2 separate regions of the Homo sapiens genome follow, and region 1 is linked to region 2. Evidence: promoter capture Hi-C in human tissues and cell types (Jung and others, 2019). All regions are on one chromosome and are shown on one strand. Each heading gives the region's core, a stretch centred on a gene start or on the middle of the fragment in contact. The rest is flanking DNA. Distances are from core to core; before and after follow the strand shown. Region 1 holds the start of OR11H6 (olfactory receptor family 11 subfamily H member 6). Region 2 holds the start of OR11G2 (olfactory receptor family 11 subfamily G member 2).

Region 1 (4,587 bases), core at 1,557-4,056, 33 kb after region 2:
TAATTTATGCCAAGCAAAATTTGTTATCATGTCCCCTGTACTACAAAGATTTATTCAAGTTATTTCTAACTGGAGTAAATATCTTTTTTCAGACCCACAGCATGCAGTTGGACGTGCTGCAAAAATACACAGCTCAAGGAACCCCCAGCCTATGCACATGACTGTGCAGATATAGGTTGTAATCTTGATAGTTTTTATAAAACCTGAGTTCCAAAAGGGGAGGAATTTTATTTTGTATATTCACCATTATAACCCCAGAACTCAACACACTGCTAGCAATATAATAAATGGTGAATAAACATGTGTTAAATTAAATTCTTGAATAAACAAATAAATACATGAAATGCTACGATTTAAATTTAACATCCAACCTTTTTTTATTTTTTATTTCTTTTGTTTTAGAAACTTTTTTTTTATACTTTTAAGTTTTAGGGTACATGTGCACAACATGCAGGTTTGTTACATATGTATACATGTGCCATGTTGGTGTGCTGCTCCCATTAACTCATCATTTAACATTAGGTATATCTCCTAATGCTATCCCTCCCCCCTCCCCCCACCCCACGACAGGTCCTGGTGTGTGATGTTCCCCTTCCTGTGTCCATGTGTTCTCATTGTTCAATTCCCACCTATGAGTGAGAACATGCAGTGTTTGGTTTTTTTCCTTGCCGTAGTTTGCTGAGAATGATGGTTTCCAGCTACATCCATGTCCCTACAAAGGACATGAACTCATCATTTTTTATGGCTGCATAGTACTCCATGGTGTATATGTGCCACATTTTCTTAATCCAGTCTATCATTGTTGGACATTTGGGTTGGTTCCAAGTCTTTGCTACTGTGAATAGTGCCGCAATAAACATACATGTGCATGTGTCTTTATAGCAGCATGATTTATAGTCCTTTGGGTATATACCCAGTAATGGGATGGCTGGGTCAAATGGTATTTCTAGTTCTAGATCCCTGAGGAATCGCCACACTGACTTCCACAAGGGTTGAACTAGTTTACAGTCCCACCAACAGTGTAAAAGTGTTCCTATTTCTCCACATCCTCTCCAGCACCTGTTGTTTCCTGACTTTTTAATGATCGCCATTCTAACTGCCAACCGTTTTTTTAAATTGCAAGCCCAGTAATTATATTTTCCAAGAATGACATAGCATGTAGTGTGGGAAATACAAGCAGTTATGGAGAGTATATTTGAGAGTAATTACAACTGTCCTAAAAATTCTGATGCATGTGATCATGATAATTATTATTCATTAAACTGAACTGCTTGGACAAAATTTACATTTTCCTAAAAATCATGTTTATTAGAGAAATTGTTGTATTATTCTTAAAATATTGTTAACATGAATATCCAAAGTTACCTCGGCAATAAAACATTTATGCTTTTGGGTTTGCTCCAGGTTTGATCAAGTACTGAAAGGCAGGCCTCTCGCTCTCTGTGGATCATATAAATGATGTAAAGATGGAATTTTGTGAGTATCTTAACAGTGACGCTAATAATACAATAAATTATCCTAATTTTAAAGTCATTATATTGCTAAATTTAAAATATTGATAGTGGCTTACCCAGCCAAATATTCTGAACTTTAACAAGGATATTTGAGGACACAGAAATAAGCCTGCTGGACCAATAGTTTCTAGAAAATTGTTAGCAAAATATCTAAGTTATTTATCTTGTCTCAACTCCTGATTTAGAAAATATCAGAAAGATCTTTCTGTTCTCTGCACATCCTGAGGTGACTCTTTTATTCATTATTTAATTTATGGAAAAGCAAGATAATGAAGGGACAAATTATAAAGTTTAGGACTTAATTTCTAGCAAAAATAAAGGCACATGGCTTTATTACTAGAGAAATTGATTTACCCAACAGCAAGCTCCCTCAAGAGCTAAGTCATGATGTAGAATAGTACAATTTGTTGGAGAAGGAGGCTGACAAGCAGGGAAAATGGTGGCCTGCCAAAGAAGTCATAGGTAAGGGACATAACAGCTGCCTTCAGTTATTTAAGACCTCACTACCACCATCATGGGAGAGGAATTAGACTTATTTTGTGTAGTTTCAACAAAGTCAAAGTTTACCTGCTGACTTGGGGAGTACCAAGATCAATGGGTAAAAGTAATAAAGGATACAAAGTTTGCTCACCATAAAGAAGGGCTTTGAGAGAACTAGAGCTCCTCACGAGAAAAAGGGGCTGGATTATTCAGCAAATCCAGATGCCACCAGGGAGAATGTGATCTGGGGGGAACTAGATTTGTAGCTTTCAGACCATTTTACAGATTCCTAAGGGTTCTGCAGCACCTCCCTGAGAGTAGCAAAAGGAAGGGAGCTGAAGACTCCCCAAAGTTTAATTCCTATCTGCTTTTTATTGGACTTCTACATATGAGGCTCTAAGAAGGCAATTTTAATATAGCAACTATTCTTGCTTCAGATTTATACTCAATTTTGCTTTAAAGTAAAAGAATATATCCAAAGTTTATATTTATATGTAGAGTATCTAAGGGGCAGTGATTTTACCATTAAAGATGAAACATTACTGAGACTCAGGGTTATAGAAAATTTGAAGTGAAACATGATTTGTTCCAAACCAATCTCCAAATAGGCCAGTGTATCTGGGCGTTACTGGCTTTGTACATATGTTTAAGTGAACCCTTCTAATCTCTTTGAACTTCAATTACCCTGTCTGTGAAAGAGAAGGGTAAAGAATACCTCCTCGCAGCTCAAAGAGTCATTAGGAAGACCAAATGAGATAATGTATGTAAAAATACTTAGTACATCATCCAGCATGAGTTAGCAAAATCTCCAAATGTTCTTTATTATTCATTCTTTGGTTACTTCTGTTTTTCTAACAGCTTTGGGACCCCAGAACAGAACAATGCATTTTGTGACTGAGTTTGTCCTCCTGGGTTTCCATGGTCAAAGGGAGATGCAGAGCTGCTTCTTCTCATTCATCCTGGTTCTCTATCTCCTGACACTGCTAGGGAATGGAGCTATTGTCTGTGCAGTGAAATTGGACAGGCGGCTCCACACACCCATGTACATCCTTCTGGGAAACTTTGCCTTTCTAGAGATCTGGTACATTTCCTCCACTGTCCCAAACATGCTAGTCAATATCCTCTCTGAGATTAAAACCATCTCCTTCTCTGGTTGCTTCCTGCAATTCTATTTCTTTTTTTCACTGGGTACAACAGAGTGTTTCTTTTTATCAGTTATGGCTTATGATCGGTACCTGGCCATCTGTCGTCCATTACACTACCCCTCCATCATGACTGGGAAGTTCTGTATAATTCTGGTCTGTGTATGCTGGGTAGGCGGATTTCTCTGCTATCCAGTCCCTATTGTTCTTATCTCCCAACTTCCCTTCTGTGGGCCCAACATCATTGACCACTTGGTGTGTGACCCAGGCCCATTGTTTGCACTGGCCTGCATCTCTGCTCCTTCCACTGAGCTTATCTGTTACACCTTCAACTCGATGATTATCTTTGGGCCCTTCCTCTCCATCTTGGGATCTTACACTCTGGTCATCAGAGCTGTGCTTTGTATTCCCTCTGGTGCTGGTCGAACTAAAGCTTTCTCCACATGTGGGTCCCACCTAATGGTGGTGTCTCTATTCTATGGAACCCTTATGGTGATGTATGTGAGCCCAACATCAGGGAACCCAGCAGGAATGCAGAAGATCATCACTCTGGTATACACAGCAATGACTCCATTCTTAAATCCCCTTATCTATAGTCTTCGAAACAAAGACATGAAAGATGCTCTAAAGAGAGTCCTGGGGTTAACAGTTAGCCAAAACTGAGATATCTTTGAAAAAGAAGCCAAATTGGCCACTTCTGACCTTAATTTTTTATAACTATAGAGAGTAGCTTCAGTAGTATGTTCTGGCTCACACTCAGGTAGACAGACTTATCTTTCACAGTTCCTTAGCAGTTAAATTCAGCTCATTAATGATAAATGCCAATGCTCAATAAAACATTTTAAACATATGTGGCCTCACTGAGTAGTTATGTGGTGGGTGGGTGTATATATACGTATATTATTTTTCTGTGATGTATCTTTGCTAGTTTTAATCTTAGCTGACAGAAGAAATCAATTGCATGTGTACTGAAACCTTTCAAAAGAGTGAGATCTGGCTGGGCACGGTGGCTCACGACTGTAATCCCAGCACTTTGGGAGGCCAAAGCGGGAGGATCACCTGAGATCAGGAATTCGAGACCAGCCTGGGCAATATGATGAAACCCTGTCTCTACTAAAAATACAAAAATTAGCTGGGCGTGATGGCACACACCTGTAATCCCAGCTACTCAGGAGGCTGAGGAATGAGAATTGCTTGAACCTGGGAGGCTAAGCTTGCAGTGAGCTGATATCACGCCACTGCCCCCTAGCCTGCATGATAGAGCAAGACTGCATCTTAAAAAAAAAAAAAAAAAAAAAAAAAAAAAAAGTGAGATATTTTCAATTCAGAAAATATACATATTTTTGTTTGTTTGTTTGTTTGTTTGTTTCTGAGACGAAGTTTCGCTCTTGTTGCCCAGGCTGGAGTGCAGTGGCACAGTCTTGGCTCACTGCAATCTCCGCCTCCCGGCT
Region 2 (4,601 bases), core at 933-3,432:
ACTGCAACAAAAACAAAAGTTGACAAGTGGGACCTAATTAAACTAAAGAGCTTCTACATCGCAAAAGTAACTATCAGCAGAGTAAACAGACAACCTACAGAATGGGAGAAAATATTCATAAACTATGCATCCAACAAAGGTATCATATCCAAATCTATAAGGAACTTAATTCAACAAGCAAAAAACAAACACCACCATTAAAAAGAGATCAGAAGACATGAACAAACTCTTCTCAAAAGAAGATAGGCTGGGCATGGTGGCTCACACCTGTAATCCCAGCAATTTGGGAGGCCAAGGTGGGTGCATCATCTGAGGTCAGGAGTTCGAGACCAGCCTGGCCAACATGGTGAAACCCCACCTCTACTAAAATTACAAAAATTATCTGGGCGTGGCATTGCACGCCTGTAATCCCAGCTACCTGGGAGGCTGGGGCAGGAGAATTGCTTGAACCTGGGAGGCAGAGGTTGCAGTGAGCTGAGATCGTGCCACTGTACTCCTGCCTGAGCAACAGAATGAGACTCCATCCCAAAAAAAAGAAGATATACAAGTGGCCAACAAACATAGTTTTAAAAATGCTCTCAACATCACTAATGATCAGAGAAATACAAATTAAAACCACAATGAGATATCCTCTCACACCAGTCAGAATGGCTGTGGGTAAGAAGTCAAAAAACAGTATGTATGGGTGAGACTACAGAGAAAAAGGGAATGCTTATACACTACTGGTGGAAATGTAAATTAGGTCAGCCCCTGTGGATAGCAGTTTGGAGATTTCTCAAAAAACTTAGAACTACCATTCTACCCAACAGTCCCATTATTGGATATATAACCAAAGGAAAATAAATCATTCTACCAAAACATACATGCACTCATATGTTCATCACAGAACTAGTCACAATAGCAAAGACATGGAATCAACCTAGGCGTCCATTAGCACTGGGTTGTACAAAGAAAATGTGATACATATACACCATGGAATAATATGCAACCATGAAAAACAATGAAATCATGTCCTGTTCAGCAACATGGGTGCAGCTGAAAATCATTATCCTAAGCAGATTAACACAGGAACAGAAAACCAAATATCACATGTTCTCACCTACAAGTGAGAGCTAAACAGAGGGTGCACATGGACATAAAGATGGCAACAATAGACACTGGAAACTACCAGATGAGGAGGGAAGGGATGAAGGGCTAAAAAGCTACCTACTAAGTACTATGCTTAGTAGGTACTACTAGGTACCTACTACCTGGGTGACAGGATCAATTACATCCCAAACCTCAGCATCACACAATATAACCATGTAACAAACCTGCACGTGTACTTCCTGAATCTAAAATAAAAGTTAAAATTTTAAAACATAATAATATGTTAGAGCTGAATCATAGGGGGTTTTATTTGCCAATTTTAGATCTAATGCTGTCAACAGAGAAAAAAAATCAAAGCTGCTGAAAGGAGGAAGTAAAATTAACTAAGTCTTTGAGATAAAACTTCTTCCATATTTGGAGATAGAAGGACAGCAAATGAGTTGTGCTGAAAGACCTGCACCTGCATCAGGGATGAGAAAGGCTTAGAGCCCAACTTCAGATGCAACTGCTGGGGAAGAGCTAGTGCCCTGCTCTGGCCTCTCCTGGGCCTGGCAAGTGTGCCCTGAGAAGCAACTGCTTGGGAGTCACAGACCTCAACCCCAAGCAAGAAAGGAAAAGGTCTATAAGAAAATCATGGTGGTCCTGAGAGGAGATGGATTCCTGCTGTCATTACACTGCCCTCTATGCCTGAGATCTCATCACAAATCCAGCCATCTCTTTTTTCTCAAAAAAATCAGAGGTAACTCTGTCCCCAAAACCCATAACTGACACCACTCACTAGAGGCCCAGTGAACAGCTTTCTGCATCACAGCCATAACACCCTGTGTTACTTTGGTAGACTTTCCCTTGGATACCTGGTAGGTGCTCTGAGTGAGCTTGAAGACTGATTATATCTCATACCATCCCTGACAATTTGGAGGCTGGAAAAGATATTTTCTTCTCTACTGGAAAACAAAGGCAGGAGGCACCAAGGATCTCCAGAGAACGGAGGCCCCAGAGGAAGGAAAGAACCAGCACAGAACAGTCTCCTGACACTGTTCCTCTAGCTGGTAAATTGATCCTCACTGAGCACAGGACCAGAGCTCACTCCCTGAGGGCTCTGTTCATAATGCCTCCATCCTCCAGCAAACACCAAGAGACCTTCTCCCTATTTCTGCTCCTTCATTCTTTGATGGCTAACATAGAAAAGGCTACCTCTCCTCTCCAGGACAATCAGACAGTCTCAGAGAAACTTCAGGTTTGTGATCCCCTTTTGTCCATGAAAGGAGATGATGCAATGGACAAAGTTTCCAGGATTGGTAAAGCCTAGGTTGTAATTCAAGTCCTAGGCTCCTTACTCAAATCCACTGTTTTTCTACTATGCCTGAGTTGCCTACCCCTTCTCATAAAGGGAAAAGCTGTTCTTATTTTCAAGGACTTTGCAGAAAGTAAATAGGTGTAATGATATGTAGTCAAAATCAAGTGAAGCAGATGGATGTGTGCTGCTGAGATCAGAACAATAATGCTTCCGATCCACACTGCCTTTTTGAGCTAGCCTTGGGGAAAAAGTAAAACATCAGAGAAATGCTTTTGTCTCATATTATGTATTATAGCACAGGAGCTGGCTAACTTAATGTGGGTCTAATCCAACATTTCTGAGATATAATGAGGGTGAAGCTGTTGTTTTCTTGTTTGGAAAGTTAATTGACCCAATCCAAGCATCCTGTACAGCATCCACAGCTTTAACACCACTGAACCTGTATTCACACTTGCTTCTGTAACCAACTCGGGGGAATCTGCCTGCCACTTTGGACAGCTCCAGTTTAGCCCTGTGCCAGGTAAACACTGCTGCTGCTCTCTGTACAGAGGAGCTAGGTAATAAAAGGTGAGTAACATTACACTCTTGTTAGAAATATCTTTTTTCTGTCACACGCTCTTGATCTACTTAAGTCAAGCGTCAAATGGTGACAGCACACAGAGAATCATTTTCACACCCTTCTTGTTTTCTAGGGCAGCTTTGTTAGACTCTCAAAGTCGAAAAATTGCCCTGAGGGGGAACTTGCCTGGAAATTTTGCCTTCGTGTATAAATGTCAAACTACCCAACTGGCATTTTTTTTTTTTTTTTTTTGAGACAGAGTTTCACTCTGTCACCCAAGCTGGAGTGCAGTGGCACGATCACGGCTCACCACAACCTCTGCCTCCCGGGTTCAGTTGATTCTCCTGCTTCAGCCTCCCAAGTAGCTGAGATTACTGGCACATATGACCATACCCGGCTAATTTTTGTAGTATTAGTAAAAACGAGGTTTCAACATGTTGGCCAGGTTGGTCTCAAACTCCCGACCTCAGGTGATCTCCTGCCTCGGCCTCCCAAATAGCTGGGATTACAGGTGTGAACCACCAAGCCCAGCCCCCAAATGGCATTTTCATCTGAGAGACAAATGCAACAAACATCACCTCTAGATCCATAAAGTCTTCATATCATGTATACATGTGGGATACTTGGAATAATAGTATTTCATAATGAAAAGGAATCAAAAATCATATAATCCAACTCCCATTTCATATAAAGAAAATGAAGCTTATACAGGTTAAAAGACTACTAGAACCCCTCCACAACTTTGTTGCAATACTGAAGCTAGAATTTCCCTCTAGCTCTGTCCTAATTCTATATCCAAAGCTGTGGAACAATAATTATCTTTAGCAGTCAGGAAGAAACTCTCTGGGATGGGACATGTTCTATCACCCAGAACATTCGATTTCCCATGGCTTCCTTTGAATGGAATTCCTCTCAAGTCTAGGACAACACTCTAGTAGCCTAGGGTAATTTGAAGTCTCTCTTATATATTTCATTTCCTCAAATTTCATCTCTCCTTCATTTTGAAGTTCAATGAAGTAATTGGTAAATATCTATCGATGTATTGTCTATCTATATCCTCTATAACAGTGTAGACAATCATTTTTTAACAAATATTTGAGAAATACCTATTATCTTCCTCAGACTATGTGGGGCACTGGCGATAAAGAGTGAACTTGAAGTACAAGAGCAAAAATCCTGAGTCCTGAAAGTACCCGGCTGTTTGTAAAAACTGAAAGAAGGCCAGTGTTATATTGCTGAAGTTTTGAGGAGGAAGGGTGTACATGTTATGTGTGTGCATGCATGTGTATAGAGAGGAGACAGTCAGAGAGGCAAATTCCAATGGCTTTGGAAACATAATTTAGCTGAAAGTTGGCCCAGAGGTCTGAGTTAGTTCAGCAGAACAGACTGATTCCAGCTTTCACCTCTAGAAGTCCCCTCTGTTTGTTTTTTGTTTTGTTTTGTTTGTTGTTTTGGTTTTTGTTTTGGGGGTTGTATTGAGGCAGAGTCTCACTTTGTTGCCAAGGCTGGAGTGCAGTGGTGCAATCTCAGCTCACTGCAACCTCTGCCTCCTGGGTTCAGGCAAATTCTTGTGCCTCAGCCTCTCGAGTAACTGGGATTACAGGTGGTGCGTGCCTCCAAGCCTGGCTAATTTGTGTGTTTTTAGTAGAGACGAAG

What was found. The method cuts DNA at HindIII sites, captures the fragments that hold promoters and counts their contacts. A contact is called where the count stands out against the background at its distance.
Region 1: the fragment with the promoter of OR11H6 here is called in contact with the fragment with the promoter of OR11G2 in region 2 in 6 of the 25 tissues and cell types used here (adrenal gland, neural progenitor cells, psoas muscle and 3 more).

The regions. Positions count from the first base shown.
Region 1 is chr14:20,220,904-20,225,490 of GRCh38, forward strand. It overlaps OR11H6 (olfactory receptor family 11 subfamily H member 6), which reads left to right and starts at 2,807. Exons shown (of 1, transcript NM_001004480.1): 1 at 2,807-3,799. The coding sequence starts at 2,807. The coding sequence ends at 3,799. The HindIII fragment of the contact is 13,960 bases long and covers 1-3,959 here.
Region 2 is chr14:20,188,714-20,193,314 of GRCh38, forward strand. OR11G2 (olfactory receptor family 11 subfamily G member 2) reads left to right here and starts at 2,183. Exons shown (of 2, transcript NM_001386033.1): 1 at 2,183-2,953. The HindIII fragment of the contact is 15,749 bases long and covers 1-4,601 here.